2 separate regions of the Homo sapiens genome follow, and region 2 is linked to region 1. The links are contacts of gene promoters, found by promoter capture Hi-C in blood cells and fetal thymus (Javierre and others, 2016). All regions are on one chromosome and are shown on one strand. The core of a region is centred on a gene start or on the middle of the fragment in contact, and the rest is flanking DNA. Distances in the headings are between cores, read along the strand shown.

The links. The method cuts DNA at HindIII sites, captures the fragments that hold promoters and counts their contacts. A CHiCAGO score of 5 or more calls a contact.
Region 2: a fragment that was not itself captured here is called in contact with the fragment with the promoter of DPYSL4 in region 1 in 5 of 17 cell types (monocytes, naive B cells, non-activated CD4 T cells and 2 more); the score reaches 7.5 in monocytes.

Annotation. Positions count from the first base shown.
Region 1 is chr10:132,184,368-132,189,465 of GRCh38, reverse strand. DPYSL4 (dihydropyrimidinase like 4) reads right to left here and starts at 2,518. Exons shown (of 14, transcript NM_006426.3): 1 at 2,364-2,518. The coding sequence starts at 2,402. It overlaps JAKMIP3-AS1 (JAKMIP3 antisense RNA 1), which reads left to right and starts at 2,714. Exons shown (of 4, transcript NR_184044.1): 1 at 2,714-4,501. It overlaps JAKMIP3 (Janus kinase and microtubule interacting protein 3), which reads right to left. Exons shown (of 24, transcript NM_001323087.2): 24 at 4,608-5,098. RefSeq lists an enhancer at 1,298-1,799. The HindIII fragment of the contact is 7,306 bases long and covers 1-3,547 here.
Region 2 is chr10:132,657,258-132,662,355 of GRCh38, reverse strand. The region is part of intron 4 of INPP5A (inositol polyphosphate-5-phosphatase A); the gene reads right to left. Among named protein-coding and RNA genes, the nearest start is that of INPP5A, 120 kb to the right of the region's middle. The HindIII fragment of the contact is 1,526 bases long and covers 2,070-3,595 here.

The DNA of each region.
Region 1 (5,098 bases), core at 1,269-3,768:
TTGGCAGTCATAAATCCACTTCTAAGAATCCTACCAGATGGCCGGGAAGCAGAAGATTAGGCAGAAAGTAGGGTGTCACTGATGGGACTCTGCATGACCGTCAGAGGTGAAGATCTGACCTCATTGGAGAATGGGGGAGAGAAACACAAAAAAGGAGTGAAAGGAGGTGGAGAAGGACGCGCCCACGGGCTGGACTCGGCAACGCTTTTCCCTCCACCGTCTGGCGTGCGCCTCAGCACGCCCTGCAACTGACCCGGCAGGACTGACCGTCTGCATTTAACAGGGAGGTCCGGCCGCCTGCTCTGGGTTTCCAGGGCCCACCCATAGGTGGCCAGGGCCCTAGCCTGGGGCTAGAGCCTTCACGCACCGTCAGTCTGAAGCCAAGAGCATTAAACTGAAGTGCACAATTGGTAAAACTCTCAGAATGAGAAGGAGTTCATTATCTAGGAACTCCATTACAGGATTCACTGCTGACATCTAACTGTGGGGCTGTATTTTCAGGATCCCAGTGACTTGTCAACCTCTACCCCATAGTCTACAAACGGTTGGCAGACTATGCCACAGGCCAGACCCAACCCTCTACCTCTCTTCATACAGCCCTAGGCTAAGAATCGTTCTTGTATATTCACTGAAAACAATAACAAGAGTATGTCATGACTCAAAAATTCTATGAAGTTCACACTGCAGCATCCACAGATGAAGTTTTGTTGGAACACAGTGGTGCCCATCGACTTCCTAAATGTCCAGGACTGCTTTCCTGGCAGGGCCAAGCAGCTGAGACAGGAACAGCGTGGTCCGCAAAGCTGACAACATTTACTCTCGGGCTGGTTGTGGAAGAAGTTTTAGACCCTTGGTCTACAGAGCTGTCTGTTCCCAGCCGCTGCACCTCTCCTCCTCCTGCCCAGTCCCAGCTGAGCGCCAGGCTCAGCCCTGACCCGGCACCACCATGCATTTGCAGAGCCTCTGTGGCCGCATCAGGCCCTGGCTGCCTTCCCGGTGCTGTCCCTCTTCTTCACTTTCCACCCCTCCCAGGGGACCCACGCATTTTCAAGGAAGCCCTAGAAAACGCAACCGGGCAGAAGGAGGCTTGAGGAGACGTGTGGTCTGGGCTCTCTGCTCATAGGCGCCCAAGTGTTCAGGCACCCGCACTGAGACTGGGTTTGGAACCCAGAGGAGACGCAGCTGGGGTGTGGGGCTGTGCTCTTCTTACTGCACTCATCCGGATGGAGGTGAAAGTTCCCGGGAAGCAGCTGCCCCTCCGCACTGACATGGTTGCCTGACCTCCCCTGGGAAGGGGTCCTCCTGCCACCCCCAAACTCGACCCCCACATGCCAGCTGACTGGCAAGACCTCCTGCATCAAGACCAGACCCAGCCGGGCAGAACCCTCTGGAGGCAGCAGCCCCTCCCATCTGGAGAGGGGAGGGCTCCTTCCTCGCTCAGAGTCTGGGGGAGTGGAGCCCACAGCCCACGGCTCGAGCTAATGCCAGAGGTCAGACCCCACGGCCCTCCCGCCGAGGCCAAGTCCAGAGTCGGGTCTGGGACCCCATGGACTCCCCCGCCCAGGTCCTGCCGGGTCCCGAAGCCTCCTTCCTCCCACCCCCATCTCCCCCCGCCCGAGCGGGGAGGCTTTGTTTCTGGCAGAGCGGGACCTCCCGCGCCGGTGCGTGTGGGTGTTGGGGAGGGGTCTCTGCTCTCGAAGGTTCAGGGGCTGCCAGGGTTCCCGGCCAGTGGCCCTTGACCGCTCGCTTTCCTTGGAGTCGCTGAACCCAGGTTACTGGAAGGGTTCGGGGCCACCAGGGACTCCGGCCAGAGCGGCCGGGGCTAAATCGCTTTGTCTCGGACAAAGAGCTCCCGACGCAGCGCCAGTGCGTCCAAGGGGCGGGCGACCCACGGGCTGCGCCGGGAACGGCATCTCCCCGCGCCCCGGACCAGCCCGGGCCAACAAAGGGCCGCGTCCGCCCGCCTCGCCACCCGACCGCCGTGGGAGAAAGGAGCCGCTAGCGCTCCGAGGGACAGGCCGCCCGGCCCCGGGTTCTCCCCGGGCGCAGCCGAGGCTCCCGGAAGCCGGCAAGGCCGGGCAAGGCCGGGCAGGGCCCGGCAGGGCCCGGCAGGGCCGGGCAGGGCCGGGCCGGGCCGGGCCTGGGCGCCCCGCTCCTTAAGGGGGTCTGCGCGGCGCTAGCGGGGACTCTCGGACCCTGGGGCGCGAAGGAGCCGAGCAGGGAAGGGCGGGCGCCAGGACAGGGACCAGACGCAAAGGCAGGGACCCCCCACCCACGCACAAGACCAGGAGGGTCCGCCCGGCGTCCAGGCCCCACTCCGGGCGGCGGGCAGGGGGCGCCGGGCGAAGCGGGACCGGGCTCACCGTGATCCGGGGGATGCTTTTCTTGCCCTGGAAGGACATCCTGCTCCTGGGGGTCTCTGGTAGGGGCGGCACAAGCGGGGGCGGGCGGGCGGGCGGGCGGGCGGGGGGACGCGTGAGCCGGGACGCGTGCGTGGGGACGGCGGGAGACAGACTGCGAGCGCGCGGGGCCGCACGGCTCCGTTCCGGTCCCGCCCCCGCTGGGCCCCGCCCCCACCCCGGCTCCGCCCCCGGCAGGCCCCGCCCCCGATAGGGCCCGCCCCAGCCCGAGCCCCGCCTCACCCCGCCCATCAGCCCCGCCCCCGCCCTCAGCCACTCCTTCGCTTTAAAGCCCCCCCAGCGCTGGAACCGCTGCAGGGTCTGATCTCTGCACCCCGGGCCCCCGCGCAGACCCGCGGACGAGCGCTGGGTGGGGATTTCAACCTGCTCCAGCTGATGTGCGCGGGGTTTGCACCCCGGGGAGGCGAGGGAGAGAGTCCGGCCACGTCCTGCCAGGCCCCGCCCGCGCCCCCGCTGCCCTCCAGCGCGGAACCCAGGTCCCAGGAGACGCGAGGCGCCCAAGGCCCCGGGATTCCGAGCCAGTCAACCCCGGGCCGCGACGCTCTGGGAACCACACCCGTCCAGGAAGGCACCTTGGCCAAAGCCGGCTCCTTCGCAGATGACCCGGGCCAGGGTCCGAGCGCCAGGCTGTGACCCCGCGAGGCTGTTCCACGCTGGCCGCGAGAGACGGAGGGCAGGAGGGGCCCGAATAGGACAGAGAGAGAGAGAGAGAGAGACAGAAGGAGGCGCACGCGCTCCCCAGGGACCGGGACGCGGTGGTGGGCGGGACCTCGCGGGGGTGGGGGGTGGTCGCAGGACCCAGAAGGCTCAGGACCTTTACGGATAGGGAGGACCCCGCAGGGGGGAGCGGGGGAGCCCCACGCCCGGCGTCCTCCGGGTGCGAGGGTCTCGGGGAGTCCGAGCCCGGGCCCACGGCCTCTGTCCCGCGGCCACTACCTGCTGGGGGTCCCGGGCCTGGGCCACGCCGGGCTGCCCTCGGGGACTTGCTGCGGCCGTTGAGGGGTCTCCGCGCGCCGCGCAGACTCGCCTCCCAACCCGAGGGCCCGGGCGGCCGCCGCCCAGAGCGTCCAGCGGCAGCGTCTTGCTCTCGAAGGCGTCCTCCACGCAGCGGAACACGCAGCCAAGCTTGGGCCGGGCCAGAGGCCTCGCGGGCTCCTGAGGCTGCCGCGCGGTCACGGCAGGAGCGGGCGACAGAATCCGGTCTCGGAGCCTCCTGTAGCGAGGTCTGCGCGGCAGGTGCACTGGGCGGACCTGGAGGCCGCGCCCTCCCCCCCCGCCTCCTGCCGCCCGGCAGCGCTGCGCGGAGCTGGCTCTGTCCACGTAGCGGGTGCTGAACGCCCCATTCTGGCCCCTGGGTGCTCGCTTAGTCCCGGCCACGCGTGGCTGCTCGCCCTCGGGACACACTGGGCGCTGGGAAGGCCGGGCGGGGAGCGCGCACCGGAGAAACCGCTGTGGGAATCCCGGCCACATTTCCAGGCCCCTTGGGCCGTCCCACGCCAGACAAGAAAGCCCTGACTCCGAAACCCTGGGCGAGTGTGGAGGGCGCGCGGGGGTGGGGTGTACCCGCCCACGCAAACTGCTGCTGATCTCCCTTAAAGCCGAGTTAGAGGCTTGGGGCGAGACAGGAGTGACGGGCGATGCTGTCACTCCATCTGTCATTCTACCCAGCCTGCAGCAGCTGAATTCGAACCCAGAGACTTCAGGCCTTTGCGTTGTTACCGCAGTCCGCATTTCAAAGCCAGAGTTTGGCCACTGAGTCACCATGACCTCGAGTACTGGCGGGGCCCGAGCCAGCAGAGCTAGGTCCAGCAGCTTCCCACCCCTTCGTCCTCCTCTGGGCTCCCCCTCCCCTAAATGATTAATGCAATGTCTGTTACTCACCTGTGTGGGACCGTCCACGGCAAATATCACCAACTGTTCTTATGCACGTGCAGAAGTTCCGTCCCTTTCCTAACTGTCTGATCTCTTCCATGGTTCACATTTGACCAACAGCCACAGGAGGGAGCCTCCCAGGTGGTCGACCGGAGCCAGGTGCTGCCAGGCACCCGACTGCAGAGCTTGCCCTCCAGGTGATCTCGCAGGTGAGAACTGGGGCTTTCCTCCACAGTGGGCGGAAGGCGCGGACTCCGTTTCTGGTGTGCAGAGGCACTGTTCAGAGAATGAACTCAGAAGTGCAGAAATGGCTCATACGGCTTTCAGTTCAAACTTTAATACCTTTGAGGGGACTTTAATCGTCTAAGATTTAAAACATTTTTTATTAAAACTGTACAATAATTTACAAACGAGTAAAAAATTCTCTGGTATATATCATAGGAATCACAATACAAAAATATTTGTAAAATCTTGTAGATCACCATACAAACCTATTTTAGGCCTGTGAATACTGCTTAGCATGGAACGGAATGTCACGTGGTTAGAGGGTGACTATGAAGGGAGTGCCTGGGAGAATACACACACTACCTGGCATGCCGCCGTAAGAAAACAGGCCCGGTTAGTTTTTGCATAAATTTACAATAAAGCTTTTTAAAAAATATACAGTAAACAAATATATGATTTGATACCTATATTCACAATATGAGTTTCCTGAGGCTAAACTGAATTCCATTACTGTGATAAAACACACACTCTCTCTCAGGGTTTCAAGGATGGGATGACGGTGAGTTGGCGAATGCGTCAGT
Region 2 (5,098 bases), core at 1,583-4,082, 470 kb before region 1:
AGCTGCTATGAACATTCAGTCTTAGTGTGGAATGTGCTTTCATTTCTCTTAAGTAAATACTGAAGAGGGAAACGGCTGGGTGATACGGTGTGTGTATTTTCAACGTTTTTTTTAAGACCTCCATGTTTTCGCATGTTTTACATTTCCAGCACTAACACGACGGCTGCAGTGCTACCACCGCCTCCCCAGCGCTTGCCACGGTCGTCTTCATAGGTCCAACTGACTGGTTTCCTCTTATAGTGGTTTCTGCTTTTGGTGTCATATTTAAAGAAAGAAGTCCTGTGTGATCTTGTGGAAGCTGCATGGTTCTAGCTCTTACGCTAGGTCTATGATCCAGTTCAAGCTAAATTTTCATGTGGTTTCAAGTAACAATTGAAGTGAGTTTTTTGCAAACGGCCCTCTAATTGCTACAGCACCCTTTGTGGAAAAGATCATTCACTCACTGCTGAAGTCCACTGATACCTCTGACAAAGATCAATAGTGGGCCACTTTCTAGACTCTCCATAATGTTCTGTGATCTGTTTATCTGGTTTTATGCCAATACTATACTGATTTAATTATTGAGATTCAAAGAAGTCTTAATCAGGTAGTATAAGGACTCCATCTTTATTCATGTTCAAAGTTGTTTTGGCCCATTCTAATTCCTTTACATTTACATATACATTTTAGAACCAGCTTAATTTCTACCAAAAAAAAAAGTCTGCTCAGATTTTGATTAGTAATGCACTGAATCTTTACATCAATTTGGGGAGAAATGACATCTTAACAAGATTGAGTCTTCTGATCCATGAACATAGTATATCTCTCCATTTATTTAGATCTTATTTAATTTCTCTGAGCAATATATCATAGTTCTCAGTATACAGGTCTTACACATCTTGACCTAATTTATTCCTAAATATTTCATATTTTTGATGCTATTATAAATGGTAATGTTATTTACATTTCAATTTCCAACGGCATCATTTACAAGTTGACAGCTTACAAGCCACTAACTACATAAAGAGATTCTGAAGACATAATCAAAATATTTTTATGTTAGTAAGACCCTTCTGACTATTCATGAAAGCACTTCATTTTGCCTTTTTCTTCCTGAAGGAGGTATTGTCCTCATCACTTTCAATGTAGGCAATTCAGTAAAGTTGATCTCAAGCATCAAACAATTTACACATGGTGCTGGATTGTGTTTTTGAAACCATATCACGAAGAGGTGGGAGCATGCAGCTGGGGACACAGAGAGACCTGGCTGGATTGTGGGTGGGGGCATTGTGCAAGGGAGAGATGCAGGCCTCATTCCAGGACTGGCTATGCTCCATCCGGCATCCTCATCTTGGCCAAGGTGCAGGGATCTGGTTTTCCTCCCTCCTGGGTTTGACCCTACTTCTCTTTAGTGCTCAGTATGGGACACTGCCCTAGTTTTAGGCTTAAAGGAATCAGAGTCAAAAAAATAAATGTGCACCAATATGGATCACCACTTCTGGTCCTCTCTGTGCATTTACTTCAATAAGAATTTAAAAGGTAGATATCAGAGGACTCTACGTTTGAAACAACACACTTGTCCCTTCTCCATCTTCCCCCAGTTCTGACTGCCTCACCTCTCTCCCTGAACTCTGTAATGGTCCCCACTGACTACCTAATCACATTCAAATTTCTTTACCTGATACTCAAAGGACAGTCAAGATTCTAGGCTCTTCTCTCACCGTGAATGGCATCCAGACAGCCTCTGCTCAGACACCAGAGCCTCTGCTCAGACACCAGAGCCACTCCCACCTGTTGCTGACACAGGTGCCTCACCGCACCAGATCACAAACTGGCACACCACCTTCTTGTCAGTGCTACCTCCTCCTGCAGGTCTTGTTTGATGTCACCATCAACAGAAGGAGTCTCTTCCTCCTAAGAAGTTTCCTGGAATTTTGTTTTTTAAAAGCTAGTAACACACACACACACGAGTTCTGCAAGGCACACTATGAAAACAGTAGCTCCTGTCCACTTCAGTCTTCTAGTTCCCAGAGGCAATTATTTTCTTTTGATTGTTTTCTTTTGGTATTTATCTCCATACCTCTAAAGCTTATATTGCCACTTCTTGATTTTCCAGTTTTCAACATTGATTTTTCAATTTTTCCATGCTGGAAGAAGAGGATTTAACTACTTTCTACTATCTTTCCCCGTCACTCAATATCACACACACACTCCATCTCTCACCCCCACCCTCTCAATATTTTCACTTAAATCAATAATCAATATTTACATCATTATAATGTGCCGTGTGTCACGCATTGGCAGACGTCAGAACGTGCCGTGGGCCACGCGTCGGCGGAGCGCGGGAACGTGCCGTGGGTCACGCGTCGGCGGAGCATGAGAATGTGTTGTGTCACGTGTCATGTGCCATGTCACAGGGAGTATGCCGCGTGTCATGTGTTGTATGTCACATGTCATGTGTCAGGAGCTGCAGGCTGCATGTCCTCAGGTTTCTGGAGCCCAGCTGACAGCACTGGATCCTGTTGTGGGCATCTGGCTCTGTGATGAGGCACTGGCCTTCTCCATGCTCCACCTCCCAGGGCAGGCAGCCATGAAGCCGTGCAGACCTGACTCGGGACAGTGCTGGGGAGGAGGCCCTGGTGAGTGCCAGGCAAGGTTGCCGCCTGCCAAGTGGGTTGTTCTCCTGATCCGGCCCTTGCTGTGGGCCTGCGTGCAGAGGTCTCCTCTGCAGGGGACGGTGGGTGTGCATCAGCCACGGCGCTCAGCACAGAATACCCATGGCTGTGCAGCAGCTGGACCAGGGCATGTTGAATGAATGGACTGCCATGGGAGCTGCTCGCTGAGAAGGAACACTGGATAACCTGGGCACGGTCATCCTTCAAAAGCCTCAGCTTAGACAGCAGCGCCTCCAGACCCGCGTCCGTGGATGCACCCCACAGGGACCTCATGGCCAGCACTGCCCACCACTCCCGCCTCACCCAGAGCTAGGGAACCCTCTGCCCATGGTCCCATGGCTAGATGGCCAGGACCAGCCCCAGAGCTACGGGCCAATGGCAGCTCTCCATCTTTCCAGTTCTGGACCCTTCCAAGGCTGCTCTCAGCAAGGTGCCTTTCTCAGTGCTCCAGCTCCTGACAGGACTTCCTGCTTCCTCAGCCCCAGGCCTCAATCTGAACCCCTGTGCCTCTGAGTCTGCCTGACACCTACAGGAGCACAGACAGGTCTCCCCGGAAGTTTGGAGAACACTGGCGTGGGGAGTGGCACCTGCAGAGCTGGGGACCCACCTAGGCATCTTCGCCTCCTGGGCTGCTCATCCCCAGGGCCCAGGTCGGTAGCCTTGGTGGCTGGCAGCTTCCACTGTGGACGGCAGCTGACTCCAGGTGATGGCAGAAGGAGCTTCCCAGGCAGCCTGTTGAGCACCCACGAGGAAGCGCAGATGCTGGCGGCACCTATCTTTTCAAACTGCCCCAGGCCCGACGCCTTCCACTCTCCTGCCGGGTGCATGGAGCCACCGGGAGCAGCCGGCGGCCTTGGTGGTCTTGGCAGTCTCGGCGGTCTTGGTGGCTTTGGCGGTCTCAGCAGTCTCGGTGGTCTTGGTGGCCTTTCGAAAGGAAAGCTTCTCAAGAGACATACAACCCAGCCTCCTTGGAGCCCAGAGGGCCTAGAGCATCCGTGCCCAGAGACCACCCAGCTGCGGGCAGCTTGCAGACACCCGGGCACCCATGAGCACCCCCGGGGGGCCGGCGGACTCAGCCCTGTGTGTAAACAGATCGACACGCGTCAAGGCTGCATCCAAGGCCCGGCCTGCAGCCAGGAAACACCCGTCTGCTCAGAACGCACGGAGCCGACCATGAAATTAACCTCATGGCAATTGTTTTCCCACCCGTTTGATAGCCCAATGTCAGCTCATCTGTTAGAAGGAAATAAAAGAGTCAAGCCTAAATGTACAAAAAATTATGATGGAAGGTCCTAAATAAAGCAGGCTTATGGAGTCAAACATCAATCCATCAATAAGGGAGTGGATTAGGAGCACCTCATAAGCCCCAAAGAAATAATGTGCCCAAACACTGGGATTTCACAGTGGAGGACCAAATTCCAACACTTTTAGGAAGTAAATAATGAAAAATCAATTCAAAGAAAAAACAGATCAAGAACCCTGGACTCTGACACATTTATTGCTGAATACCATTTCTCGGCTGACCCAAAAACTTCGGAAGGTGTTTATTTACTTTCAACACCTTCCAGAGATCAATATTTTTAATTTGGATCCGAGTTATTATTTTTCACATCACAGCAGCGGGGAGCGGAGTAAAGTGGCTCATATTTTAGTGCTAAAAAGATCGATATGACAGTTTCACCTTCACTGCAGCCCCAGCCGCACATCATCGCGTCCCACGGGACTGCAGGTGCTGGGGCCGGGGAGCAGGTCATTACCTGCCCGCTGAGGAGACAGCCCGTGATTTAGGGGAGCATGAAGGGCCCGGTGCCCTCAGAAAACCAATCTCGCCCCCTCTCACTTCATCAGGACTGTCTTGCCCCCAGGCAGGTGAGGAGGCAGCGAGCCCCAGGGCAGGGCTGGAGCCCTAAGGCAGATGAGCTTCCTCATCATAAACGCGTTTGCCTTTCCTTCCCCTTCTCTGGATCAAAGAACATCCGTAAACTCCATCAATTTTCCATAAATTCTCCCTAAAGTCTTATTTAGGAGAACGAGAGTGGAAGGGGGAGCTCACAGAGGAGGAGGAGGGAAAGCAGAAGGGCCTCTCCCAGGAAGCAGCGGGCCTCTCATTCCTGGGCCACCGCTGGGTACTGGGGCCCCCCACCCCAAGAGCACCAGGGCCACTGCCTGGGGGCCATGCCGAGAGCCTGCCTCTTACAGACTACAGAGCTGGGGGTGGGGGCTGTGAGCTGCCGTGCACAGCACTTGCAAAGGGCATCTGTGCCCCACTTCACTCTCCACAGACCCAGCCGCGGGGGAGGCAGACCCTGCTCTGCAGGAGGCCAGAGCCCCTGGAAAAGCCTAGAAGCCACCAAGGCGCGAGCAGAGTCCACCATGGCAGTGCTTGCAGGTCACTCATGGTGCCAGCAGAGACCTGCCCTCCGAGGTGCAAAGGCAGCGCTAGC